5 separate regions of the Homo sapiens genome follow, and all the other regions are linked to region 1. Evidence: promoter capture Hi-C in human tissues and cell types (Jung and others, 2019). All regions are on one chromosome and are shown on one strand. Each heading gives the region's core, a stretch centred on a gene start or on the middle of the fragment in contact. The rest is flanking DNA. Distances are from core to core; before and after follow the strand shown.

Region 1 (2,565 bases), core at 66-2,565:
CAGGAGAATCACTTGAACCTGGGAGGTGGGGAGGTTGCAGTGACATGAGATGGCACCACTGCATTCCAGCCTGGGTGACAGAGCAAAACTGTCTCAAAAAAAAAAAAAAAGCAGATTCTGTAACAAAGGTCCAGGGCAGAGCCTGAGATTCTGCATTAGTAGCAAAGGCCCAAGTGAAGCCAGTGCTGTTGCTCTGCAGAACACCTTTGAATGGCAGGCTTTTGAAATATTTTCTCATTGGAAGAATCTTCTGTATTTATTAAATTCTGCTTAAAATTATTAACTTTCTTGTATATCCATGTTCATAACAGCATTATTCACAATAGCCAAAAGGTAGGAACAACCCAGGTGTCCATTGACAGGGGACAGGGGGTGAGAAATTTATTTCATGGACACAGATTCAGGTGGAAAAGATGAAAAAGCTCTGGAGATGGAAGGCAGTGCAGGTGGCACAACAATGTGAATGTACTGAATGCCACAGAACTGTGTACCTAAAACGGCTTAACACGGTAAGCTTCATGTTATGGATATGTTGCCACGGTGTTCACAAGTTATTAACTCAATCAGACTATTTAAATGCCCAGTAGATTGCATTCTGGGGAAATGGCTGTTTCAGGAAAATTTTCAGTGATTGCCACAGGGACCTCCCATGGGTGGGGAATGGAGTCTGGAGCACGGCTGCATGGCTCATGGAGAGAATTTGCACAGCCAGGTAGCCCCTGGTCCACTTCTACCCATATCTGGCCAGGTGCAAAGAGCATAGCTGTACCTTCTATTATCTCTCTCAATTTCTTATTTGCACTTTGCCCATGTCTATAGAAGGAAAAACTTGACTGATTAAAAATTACATTCACGGCACCTGTAGTCCCAGCTACTCAAGAGGCTGAGGCAGGAGAATGGCGTGAACCCGGGAGGCGGAGCTTGCAGTGAGCTGAGATCGTGCCACTGCACTCCAGCCTGGGCGACAGAGTGAGACTCCATCTCAAAAAAAAAAAAAAATTATACTCACGCCAGCCTGGGCAACATGGCGAAACCCCATCTCTAGAGAAAAATACATAAATTAGCCAGGCGTGGTGGCGTGCGCCCGGGGTCCCAGCCACAAGCTGAGGCAGAAAAAAAAGTAGCTACTCAGCTACTCAATGTTCACTCTTTAAAAATGCTTTTCCATCATCCTCCACCGTCTCCCACCCCCCACCAAGCAGCAAGATAATTCCCCATCGCTTAGCATCATATAGCTGCTTATGTGACCTTGAGAATGTCCACATGTCACAATGGACAGTCACTTAACACTAAGCAATGACACATGCTAGGAGTGGGGCTGGGCCTTGGGGCTGCTGGATGAATGAGACCCAGCCTCTGCCCTGGGAGTGCAGAGACTCAAGACAGATATGACCACGTGAAGAGACAACTGTAAAACAAGTGGTAAGTGCATCTACAGCCATAGCCACGGGGCACTGTGAGACCACAGAGCAGTGAAAACTAAGCCAGTCTAGGCTTGGCAAGGAGAGATGGAGTGAGGTGGGCAGTGGCTAAGGTGGGAAGACCAGAGCTGGGAGGTGAGATGGGATTTGGGTTTATCTTTACCAATAAGGATGAGGAGCCTGTTTCATCTTCCTCCAGGCAGGTCACAGAAGCTGGAACCAGTTGATCGGGCCGAGCCTGCAGACTCCCTCATCCTTTCCGGCCTTCAACACTGATAGCTCTGCTCTCTCTCCCCAACCTCAGTGCCTTCATCCTCCCCTGTGTTCCCATGGATGCTTGGTCCTGACTTTGCACCTCTCCCTCACACCCAGTGTCCTTTGTTTTTCCTCTGCCACTTGGGAGGCTGATGGGAGGATCACCTGAGCCTGGGAGGTTGAGGCTGCAGTGACCTGTGTTCACGCCACTGCACTCCAGCTGGGGTGACAGAATGAGAGCCTATCTCAAAGAAAAAAAAAAAACACTGCTCTGTATGATACTATCAAAGTGGATATATGTAATTGCACATTGTGAAATCTCATAGAATGCACAACACCAAGAATGGACCGTAATGTAAACTGTGAAGTATGGGCTTTAGTTAGTAACCATGCATTGATACCGGCTCATCAAGTATAACAAACGTACCACACAAACATAAGTAGTAAAAAAAAAAGGGGAAAGCTGTGTGTATGGTGCAGAGAAGGGGGGTTGTGGGAACATTGTACTTTCTAACCAATTCTAAAATTGCTCTAAAATTTAAGTATATTAATATTTTTAAAAAAAGTTTCGTTAAATTAGCAATATAATAGTTGCTTACCCAAGAAAATTCAGGTTTTCAAATATTGCGTTTTAAAAGCAATTATTTCCGGATGTGAGGGTGATCTGGCTGCAACATCTGTCACCCCACTGATGGCCAGGGTTAATTTGTCTGATCTGGCTGGCTAGGTGGATGTCTCCTTCCTCCCTCATCCGTCCACATGCGTCCTTCCAGACGCTGCGGACAACCTTCCCCAACAGAGGAGGGCCGTTCTTTGGGCAAGGGTATATGAGTAGCTGCACTCCCCTGCTAGAACCTCCAAACAAGCTCTCTAAAAGTAATTACTTCAA
Region 2 (2,565 bases), core at 40-2,539, 210 kb after region 1:
AAGGAACATCTGGGGCGTGTCGTGGGGTGGGGGGAGGGGGGAGGGATGGCTTTAAGAGAAATTACCTATTGTAAATGACGAGTTAATGGGTGCAGCACACCAACATGGCACATGTATACATATGTAACAAACCTGCACGTTGTGCACATGTACCCTAGAATTTAAAGTATAATTAAAAAATAATAATAATTGGGTACATGCATACAGATGGAATCAGACCATCTGTTATCATTTTTTGCCTGCCTTTTCTCTCTCAGCATAGTTATTTGCGATTCGTCCATGTCACTGTGATACAAGTCATTCATTTCTTTGACTGCTGAGTTGTATTCCGTTATCTCTTGCCTAGTTGGATTGTGGGGTGTGTTCAGTTACGCATATTAAAGTATCGTTTATATACAAGAACATTTACCCCTCGTGGGTACAGTTGGATAAGTCCTGACAAATAGTCTCGCAGATCACCACTGCAGTCAACATGGCAGCTGCCCACCGCTCCAGGACCCCCCACCCATGCCCTGCGAAGTCACCAGTCCCCTCTCTGTCTAGGCCCAGCACCCACCCAGCTGTTCTCTTCGCCACAGCTTTGTCTCTTGAGGGTGTCACGTGTGTGCTTTTGGGATGAGTCCGTGTTGTGTGTATCGTAATTCACGGAACGCTTCCATTTTATTTCACTTTATTTTCCACCTGAGACTATTGTAGGTCTAGTGTTGTGAGGGCCCACCTTGGGGATGCCTGCATCTGTCCTGGCCTGTCTGTCCTGGCTGTGTCCGGGCCTGGCTGCTGCTGCCGCCCACTGTGGTATCCGCCTGGTGGCTGCCTTCCCCTCTGCCCCAGCTTGGCCCTTTGTCCGCTAGGGCTCTTTTATGAGCCAAGTCATCAGGGCAGCAGGGATGGGGCTGATTAATTTCCTTAAAGAAAGCCGCTCTTTCCCTGATGAGAGTGTTGGTTGATTAAATGGGCACAGGGCCTTGGAGAGTGGCTTGGCTGTGAATAAATGACGAGGGAGGATGCTGGCAGGTAGCCTGGTGGCCGAGGGCAGGGTGTCCAGCAGGAGTGGCTGCTTATCTGACCAAACATCAAAAATCAGTGTTTTACAGATGGAAGGATGAGTCGGCCAGGGATGAGGGCAGGGTGGTGTGTGTGACCTTTGGGGACAGCTCGGGGCTTATGATGTCTACAAAAGAGACAGGCACACAGAAGCTTCCAATATACATTAAAGGCTAGCGGCCAAAAAGGAGATTTAAGAGAGACATTTGGGAAAGGATCAAGACGCAGCTTCTTTCGGCTTGCTGCTCTTGCAGAGCACTCTCCACAGCTGGGGTTTAGTGACTCTGGGGAGGGACTGTGTTTTCAGCTTTTTCTCTCTCCCCTCCTTTGTCCCAATCTGTCCTTGCCCTTTATGGTCTGATGTGTGAGTCTGCCTCTGTCATATTTTGGCTGAATGGCATGACAGCTGTGCCGGTGACCTGTGCAATTCCTTGTCCCCTTGGTGTAGACCAGTTAAAGACCCTGCAGAGGAATTACGGCAGGCTGCAGCAGGATGTCCTCCAGTTTCAGAAGAACCAGACCAACCTGGAGAGGAAGTTCTCCTACGACCTGTGAGTACACCTCAGAGCGCGTGCCACAGTGCAGGGTGCACGGCACCTGGGAGGCGGGGATTAAGCTGAGATGTAACCTCCGATAGAGCATGCACCTTCTGCTCCGTGCGGGACTCTGAGAAAGGCACGGGCCCCTCTAGGATTCATGTCCTACACAAATGCACAAGGAGGCCAGCTCTCAGCAGGAAATGAATTTCTCAGCATGCCTTAAAATGTAACTTAAAACTCTGTAAGGCACAGGTGTACTGGTTAAGTCAACAACATAAAGCTTTAAAAATGTGTTTCATAGGTGCTCATGCGTGAGCTAAATCAAATTCGTTGACTAAAAGACATTTTGGCAAAATATTGATATAGTAATAGTTTATTGCCTGGCGATCACATTGTGGACATTGTTTTCTTCAGACTTTTCAGTGATTTTCCCAATTTTTACAGTGAGAATGGAATACTTTGATAATCAAAACCAAGCAATATTAAACTATTAAAAAGTGAGCTAAGCCCCGCAGGAAGATAGTAAAAGCCAGTTTGCAAGCCAGAGGATAAAGTTGTGTTTATTTTTTCCTCATAAAAACAATATAGCTAACGTGTGGGAAGTTTGGGATTCAGAGAGAACCAACCACCCATGGCCCAGCCCTCATGACTGTCCTTTTCCCTTTGACTTACCTCTCTCCAGTCCATGCCCAAGTTCACATGAATGTTTACTTAATTGCAGTCATCATCAAAAAAATTTAATCATTTTTTTACTTGCGTTATGTACGTGTGTGTGTGTGTGTGTGTATATACTTTTTTTTTTTTTTTCTTGAGCGGAGTCTCGCTGTCCCCCATGCTGGAGTGCAGTGGCACAATCTCAGCTCACTGCAACCTCCATCTCCCAAGTTCAAGCAGTTCTCATGCCTCAGCCTCCTGAGTAGCTGGGACTACAGGTGCCCACCACCACACCCAGCTAATGTTTGTATTTTTTTAGTCGAGATGG
Region 3 (2,565 bases), core at 37-2,536, 190 kb after region 1:
GTGGTTTAATTCATTCTTTTATGTTGTTAACACAGGCTGATTAATAATTTGGGTCTGGGCCAGGCATGGTGGCTGATACCTGTAATCCCAGCACTTTGGGAGGCCAAGGCCGGTGGATCACTTGAGGTCAGGAGTTCAGTCAGCATGGCGAAATGCCGTCTCTACTAAAAATACAAAAATTAGCTGGGTGTGGTGGTGCATGCCTGTAATCCCAGCTACTTGGGAGGCTAAGGCAGGAGAATGACTTGAACCTGGGAGGCAGAGGTTGCAGTGAGCTGAGACCATGCCAAGCACTCTAGCCTGGGTGACAGCGAGACTCCATCTAAATAATAATAATAATAGTAATAATAATAATTTGGGTCTGAAGACTTCCAAAGATCCTGGGTCCCCTCTTGGCTAACTGCTGTTCAGTGGCCAGTAGTGGCCACAAAGGCTTGGGGGTGGCATCACCTGCCCTCTGAAATGCTTGGGGAAGAGTCTGGGAGACCCTGAATTACTTACTAGCACTTCGTGAAGGGAAAGGCACATCTTCCTGCTATTGTGTTCATTTTTGCTTGCCAAAAGTTCAGTCACAAATAGCTTCATTTTCAGCATTTGCACTTGTAACATTCTCGCTCGGCTGGTTTCTCGCAGCTGCACATCCACTTTGACATTTATACTTTTTACTTATTTGTTAAAATATGTGCATTAATATTGCAGAGGTGCAAAGGTAATGTTTTAGCAACAGTTCCTTTGTCATGAAAATAGAGTTCTTGTATCTTTCCTGAAGGGGAGCAACTGAGTTAAAACAAAAAGATTGCTGAGTGGAAGAACAGAGGTGTTGGTGACTTGCTTATCGTTTTGTGTCCAGAAGAAGAAAAGCTTAAAGAGGCAGTGGGAAAGTGCAGGGGGCGCTCAGCCTCACTGTTGTCATGCTTGCCTGTGTGACCTGTACCCATGTCCAGGTGGTTTCAGGGAGCTGCCCGGTTTCTCCTCTTGCACAGTAACTTGGGGTACGAGGAGGCTCTGAGGTGTTTACAGTGCTTTTCTCTTGTAAAGAGCTGGTTCATGGAGTGCGTTCTTGAGTGTCTTCTGAGCCTGGGATGGGGTCACTTCCCTCAAATACAACAGCATTTGTTTATGAGTGACTTTTGCTGAAAGATTTTGCCTCTTCAAAATAAAATAATTAACAAGTCTGGTCATTGGTCCTACTTGAGAGTTTCAGAGTGCTTTTGTAACATGAACATATTTATTTATTTTCTGGAGACAGAGTCTCACTGTGTCACCCAGGCTGGAGTACAGTGGCGTAATCTTGGCTCACTGCAACCTCCGCCTCCCGGGTTCATATGATTCTCCTGCCTCAGCCTCCCGAGTAGCTGGGATTACAGGCAGGTGCCACCACGCCTGGCTTATTTTTGTATTTTTAGTAGAGATGGGGTTTCACCATGTTGGCCAGGCTGGTCTTGAACTTCTGACCTCGTGATCTACCCTCCTCAGCCTCCCAAAGTGCTGGGGTTACAGGTGTGTGCCACCGCACCCAGCCCGACATGAACATATTTAATTTCTAACTTCATTTCTTTAGGAGACAGTCATTCTTGTCGCTTGAGACAGAGGGGAAGAGAGTGAGAGCCAGAGAGGTCATGGAAGGCTCCCGGCACCTGAGAGTGGCCGGCGTGGGGCTGCCGGGGGCTGCCAGGTCTGCTCGTCACACTGGCCCCACCAGACTGCATTCTCCTGTGGCCAGATGCAATTCTCAGAGGGTTCTGGTGTCTTCTCTCTGGGCCAGCTTTGCTTGTGCACCTGCGAATGTAATGATTGTCTTCTGGGGGAACCAAAGCGATCTTGTGCAGATAAAAGTGGTGTCTTTGATTTTTATCACCTTTAATCGCTGTGATTGATGAATCCAGAGTTCTAGAGCAGCTTTTCTGTTTTTATTCTCACCGATTTTCCGGGTCCAGTTCTGTCAGTCCGTTCAGTATTTGTTCTGTTCTGCCCTGGCCTGTGCCCAGTGGTGGGGAGGCTGTGTTCATTGCACATTTACCATTGAGTGCTGGACAAAGATGAGGAAGTGAGTGTAGTGGGGTCAGTGTAGACAGAGAAACCACCCAGATATTTTAAGCAGGAAGGATTTGATACAGGGAAATAGATACTGTAAGCTGTGGGAAGGGCCTGCATTGAGGTGGGGTGGCTCTCAGGCACTATCTCAGGACCTGCCCCTGTGCCCAGCGTAGAGCGTGAGACCAGCGGGGTTCTGCTGCAGTGCAGGCCCAGAGTCAGGGGCACCCCACTTTCTCTGTTCTGCACCTCCCACACCCTCACTCTGTTCCACATTCTAGCCTCCAGTAAGTGCATCTGATTGGAGGCAGAATCCCACTGGAAATGATTCTGGAAGGTGCATTTTAGCTTCCGAGCCTTTGTGGTTCAGGAAAGCACAGCAAAAGGCGTGTGGAACCGACGTGGAGGAGCCGATCTGCTGCATCCCCCACCAGGCAGGCGGCTCAAGGGCCATGGGAGTCAGCAGCGCTGTCCCCCACAGTGTCTAACCTGGAAGGGTGCCTAGGGAACTGCGAGTGGCTGGGCCCGAGC
Region 4 (2,565 bases), core at 48-2,547, 180 kb after region 1:
ATGAGTTCATGTCCTTTGCCAGGGACACGGATGAAGCTGGAAACCATCATTCTCAGCAAACTAACACAGGAACAGAAAACCAAACACCACATGTTCTCATTCATAAGTGGGAGCTGAACAATGAGAAAACATGGACACAGGGAGGGAAACATCACACACCAGGGCCTGTGGTGGGGTGGGGAACTAGGGGAGGGGTAAGCATTAGGAGAAGTAACTAAATGTAGGTGAGGGGTTGATGGGTGCAGCAAACCATCATGGCACAGGTATACCTATGTAACAAACCTGCACGTTTTGCACATGTATCCCAGAGCTTAAAGTATAATTTAAAAAAAAAGTAGAACCTTCAAAAAAAAAAAAAAAAACAAAAACTTTGGGCAAAATTTCTGTAAAGTAAAAGAATAGATGAAAAATTGAAAAAAAATTATTCAAATGAAGGACCAAAGATTGGTTTACCTTTAATAGACAAAGAGCTTTAGCAAATCAATAAGATGAACACCCCAGTTTAAAACTGGGCAAAAAATATGAAAAGGCATTTCACCAAAATGAACATGCAGATGGCCAATAAATGAAAAGACACTCATTTGTACTCACAATTAATGTGCTTGAAAATATCACTAATGAGATTGTCAGGCATTAAAAAGTTTGTTTTCTATGTTACCATGTCGGAAAACAGGCATTCTCCTGCTGCAGAAGATTGTGATTAAAACCTCTATATGAAAAGAAGGAAAATTTTTTTTGTAGGCCTAACTGTCTTTTTGTTTGTTTCTCTGGGACAGAGTCTCACTCTGTTGCCCCCAGGCTGGAGTGCAGTGGCGCGATCTCGACTCACTGCAACCTCTGCCTCCCGGGTTCAAGTGATTCTTCTGCCTCAGCCTCCCGAGTAGCTAGGACTACAGGTGAGCACCACCCCCGGCTACTTCTTGTATTTTTAGTAGAGATGGGGTTTCACCATATTGGTGAGGATGGTCTTGAACTCCTGACCTCGTGATCCGCTTGCCTCAGCCTCCTAAAGTGCTGGAATTACAGGCATGAGCCTCCGTGCCCAGCGAAAGGAAGGAATTTTTTAAAATATTAATATTTAACTAGAAGGTTCAAGGGGCTCATGCATTTGACAGGTTGGACCTGTTTTGGATATGGTTAAGATCTATCAAATAATTTTTTATATAGTTTAGACTTAAGGAAGGGTTGGAAAATAGTACATATAGTTCCTATATACCCTTTACCCTGTTTCCCCTTAACCATAGAATTTATCAAAATTAAGAGATTAACCTTGGTAATATCTTTTTAACCGTGCTGGCCAAGTGTTTTATAGAATGTCTGACGCGTTGACTTCCTCTGAATTTTCTCCTGATAAGATTGAGGTTATGTATCCCTGGCAGGAGGCTGTAGAGGTGCCGTGCCCTCCTAGTGCACCATATCAGGGGGTATGTGATGTCGATGTGCCTCATTATCAGGGATACCAAGCTTGAACATGTGGCTAAGGTGGCATCTGCCAGAATTCTTCATGTAATAGAACTGTTTTTCCCTTTGTAATTTGCCAACTATTTTGGAAGAGAGAAGCTCTATCAATATTAAAAACATACATTTTTGACCCAGAAATAGATCCACAGAGATGTGATTTATTTCATCTCCTGCAAAATGGGGATGATAATGCCCCCAAAGCTGATACGAGCCCCTGTATTGAGCAGTGCCTCACAACAGTAAGCTTGCTGTTGGTTCATCTCAAGCTCCTTGAGGCCAGCTAGGTTTGGAACTCAGGACTTTTTTCAGAATTCAGATAACATTGGGCATTTATTATATATTATGTGACAGCCCCAGGAGGATCTAGGACAGCACCGCATGCTCAAACACTCATCTTTCTGCAGTGAAATGTATGAGCATTCACATGAAAGGAGGAAGATAAAGACTATCAGTAGCTTCAGATAAGTTCTGATCAGACCTTGATCTCAGTTCAGGTTTTGTTGCTGGAAAAGTTTTTAAAACTTTCTCTGAGTTTTTAGAGACCGTTTTGGATTTCAAAGTTGTGAATAAGGGACTGTACACATAGGTAAGAGTTCGTAAACACAGAGATGGATGTACAGTTCCACATCTGCAGATTAAACTAGCTGTTCAAAATGTACTTAAGCCTGGCTGGGCATGGTGGCTCATGCCCATAATCCCAGCACTTTGGGAGGCCGAGGCAGGCAGATCACTTGAGGCCGAGAATTCGAGACCAGCCTGGCCAACATAGTGAAACACTGTCTCTACTAAAAGTACAAAAAAAACTAGCTGGGTGTGGTGGTGGCCACCTCTAATCCCAGCTACTCAGGAGGCTGAGATGGGAGAATCCTTTGAACCTGGGAGTCGGAGGTTGCAGTGAGCCAAGTTCGTGCCACTGCACTCTAGCCTGGGTGACAGAGCAAGACTCCCATCTCAGAAAAACAAACAAAAATTAGTTAGGCCTACTGTGGTTGCATCTGTACTGAACATGTATAGACTTTTTTGTGATTAGTTCCTAAACATATGGCTTAACAGCTAATTACATAGCATTTATATTGTACTAAGTATTATAAGTAATCTAGACAT
Region 5 (2,565 bases), core at 1-2,500, 140 kb after region 1:
ATTTTTTCTTTTTCTTTTTTTTTTTTGAGACAGGATCTCACTTTGCCACCCAGACTGGAGTGCAGTGGAGCAATCACAGCTCACTGCAGCCTCGATCCCCCGGGCTCAAGCAATCCTCCCATCTCATCCTCCCAAGCAGCTGGTACTACAGGTGTGCACCACCACACCTGATTAATTTTTAACTTTTATTTTTATTTTTGTAGGGACGAGGGCTTACTATGTTGCTCAGGCTGATCCTGAACTCCTGGGCTCAAGCAATCCTCTTGCCTCAGCCTCCCAAAGTGCTAGAGTTATAGGTGTGAGCCACTGCTCCCAGCCTGATGTGGCTTTTGTTATTATTGTCATTTTTGTTAGTTAATATGGTTAGTCAATTAATAATAATTGACATTATTAATATTATGAGCCAGATGCTTTTGATCCCTTCCCAGAGAAGAGCAACTTATCCAAATTCATACATCTCTATCTCAAAGCGCTTAATGCAAGTATACGTTGACAGATCTCTACTCCAAGAGGTAAATGGCAGGACTTTCCTTGGACACACGTCTGTGTTGGGATTTACCAGAGGAGAATGTCTGGTGCAAGCTACTATCAGTCATTAAAACCTTAGTCTGAAAGAGCAGCCACAGACAGACAGAAAGGCTGCTGTGTGGATCACTTGCTGTGTGAGCAGGAGGCTGCCACTTATGCCACCTAAACCAGTTTTCCCTTATGAGAAATGAGGACTTCTGCCCCTCCTACCTGGTAAGGGCTGTCATGACCACCACAGGGCATGAGGGAGTAAGAGGCTAGTCCTGATGCACAGGAGCCCTCTGGCAGTCCCAAGGGAGGAAAAGCCACCTGCTTCTCTGCTTGCCTGGAGTCTACACTGTCTGGTGGTCTTTCAAAAACTGCCATTAATTAACTGTAGCTGACTTGGTTGGCTATTCTTTTTAATTATTTGCTTGGGGGTGACTCTTTTATTCTGTGCAAAATTAGTTTAATACTCAGAATAACCAGCCCCTATAGAGTTTTTTTTTAAAAAAAAAAAGACTTTAAAATGCAAATTTCCCTCCCCGTTCTTCTCCCTTGATCCCAAGCATCCACAGCACTTTGAAGGAGTTTGATAGTGATATAACAAGTGATGTAAAGGCTCCTGGAGAACTTAACATAAATGCAAGTAAATCTGTAAAATTTAAAACCAACCCAAGTGAAAAAAATCAGAACTGTTGCTTTTCTGGGATAGGTGGGGATTGACTGGAAAGGTTGCATGAGGCAATTTTCTAGGGTGATGGTAATATTCTGTGTCTTGGTAGGCTTTTATGGTTACAAGGCAAATGCATTTGTCAAAATCTAATGAATGACTGTGCATTTCATCGTATGCAAGTTTTACATTCAAGGTAAGAGATGGATCTAACAAAACGTTTCTTTCCTACCTCATGAAAACACCACCTTTTGGCAGACGTGAAAAGAATACTGCCACCGGATAGAAATGGGTTCATTTGCCCATGCAACAGAAAGCCAAACACCAAAGCACCAGATTTTTGTAGGGAGAAAGGATTATTGCCAGGCAGCCAAGCAAGGAGACGAGAGTCAGGCTCAAATCTGTCTCCCCATACAAGACTTACAGTCTTAGATTTAAGAGAAAGATCTTGGAGGTGGAATTTTGGAGCTGGACAATGATTGGCTGAAAGGAAGCAGAGTTTGGAAAGTCCCTGGGTATGTGCAGTTGCCTCTTCAAGCTTCTTCATGGGTCGCATGTGCAAATTTGGAGGGAACTGGTTGTGACATAAAAAGGTCATTCATTGGCCGGGCATGGTGGCTCGATGCCTGTAATCCCAGCACTCTGGGAGGTTGAGGTGAGAGGATCACTTGAGGTCAGGAGTTTGAGGCCAGCCTGGCCAACATAGTGAAACCCCATCTCTAGTAAAAAAAAGTACAAAAATTAGCCAGGCATGGTGGCACATGCCTGTAATCCCAGCTACGTGGCAGGCTGAGGCAAAAGAATCGCTCGAACTTGGGAGGCAGAGGTTGCAGTGAGCTGAGATCACGCCACTGCACTCCAGCCTGGGTGACACAGTGAGACCCTGCCTCAAAAAAAAAAAAAAAAGGTCACTCATCTGGCCTCCAAGTCTATGCTGTGCAGACTCCAGTCAGCCATATTGGTTCCAGACTGCTTCAGCCAGCTTTGTAAGCAGATGGGATTATAGCAAACTGTTTCTTTATCTGTCCGCCTGCAAGACAAGCTCAAGCTTTCTGTAGGTTACCAGTTTCTTTAACCCTGTGGGGCACTGTGACAATGCTAAGCTACTGAATGGTGACTCCGCCTTGCATTAAAAAGCATAGCCTGGCCTGAATCCCTGTTTTCTAGCCACCAGGAGGCTTCAACACAAAAGGCTCCTGCTGGTGTCCATAAATTTCTAGCCCCATCAGAATATGAACAATGTCCAGTGTAGCATAACAGTCACTAGTCTGGGTTCTGGAGCCTGACACCTGGTTTTCAACACCACCTCTACCCTTCTTATGATTTGGAGCAAGCCACTTAACTTCCAAGCCTTTACTCATTCATAGAACAAGAATAATAATTGT

Evidence for each region. Contacts are between HindIII fragments. The study calls those that stand out against the background at their distance.
Region 2: a contact is called between a fragment that was not itself captured here and the fragment with the promoter of C9orf153 in region 1, in 2 of the 25 tissues and cell types used here (H1 embryonic stem cells and small bowel).
Region 3: a contact is called between a fragment that was not itself captured here and the fragment with the promoter of C9orf153 in region 1, in 2 of the 25 tissues and cell types used here (mesendoderm cells and thymus).
Region 4: a contact is called between a fragment that was not itself captured here and the fragment with the promoter of C9orf153 in region 1, in 1 of the 25 tissues and cell types used here (mesendoderm cells).
Region 5: a contact is called between a fragment that was not itself captured here and the fragment with the promoter of C9orf153 in region 1, in 4 of the 25 tissues and cell types used here (H1 embryonic stem cells, mesenchymal stem cells, mesendoderm cells and 1 more).

The regions. Positions count from the first base shown.
Region 1 is chr9:86,258,407-86,260,971 of GRCh38, reverse strand. It overlaps C9orf153 (chromosome 9 open reading frame 153), which reads left to right and starts at 1,315. Exons shown (of 4, transcript NM_001276366.4): 1 at 1,315-1,422. It also overlaps the pseudogene RN7SKP264. The HindIII fragment of the contact is 6,872 bases long and covers 1-2,565 here.
Region 2 is chr9:86,045,500-86,048,064 of GRCh38, reverse strand. GOLM1 (golgi membrane protein 1) reads left to right here. Exons shown (of 10, transcript NM_016548.4): 5 at 1,493-1,595. Among named protein-coding and RNA genes, the nearest start is that of GOLM1, 53 kb to the left of the region's middle. The HindIII fragment of the contact is 3,554 bases long and covers 1-2,565 here.
Region 3 is chr9:86,064,717-86,067,281 of GRCh38, reverse strand. The region is part of intron 3 of GOLM1 (golgi membrane protein 1); the gene reads left to right. Among named protein-coding and RNA genes, the nearest start is that of GOLM1, 34 kb to the left of the region's middle. RefSeq lists enhancers at 948-1,948, 1,949-2,449. The HindIII fragment of the contact is 3,549 bases long and covers 1-2,565 here.
Region 4 is chr9:86,083,251-86,085,815 of GRCh38, reverse strand. The region is part of intron 1 of GOLM1 (golgi membrane protein 1); the gene reads left to right. Among named protein-coding and RNA genes, the nearest start is that of GOLM1, 15 kb to the left of the region's middle. The HindIII fragment of the contact is 3,123 bases long and covers 1-2,565 here.
Region 5 is chr9:86,122,269-86,124,833 of GRCh38, reverse strand. No RefSeq gene overlaps it. Among named protein-coding and RNA genes, the nearest start is that of GOLM1, 24 kb to the right of the region's middle. The HindIII fragment of the contact is 3,721 bases long and covers 1-2,565 here.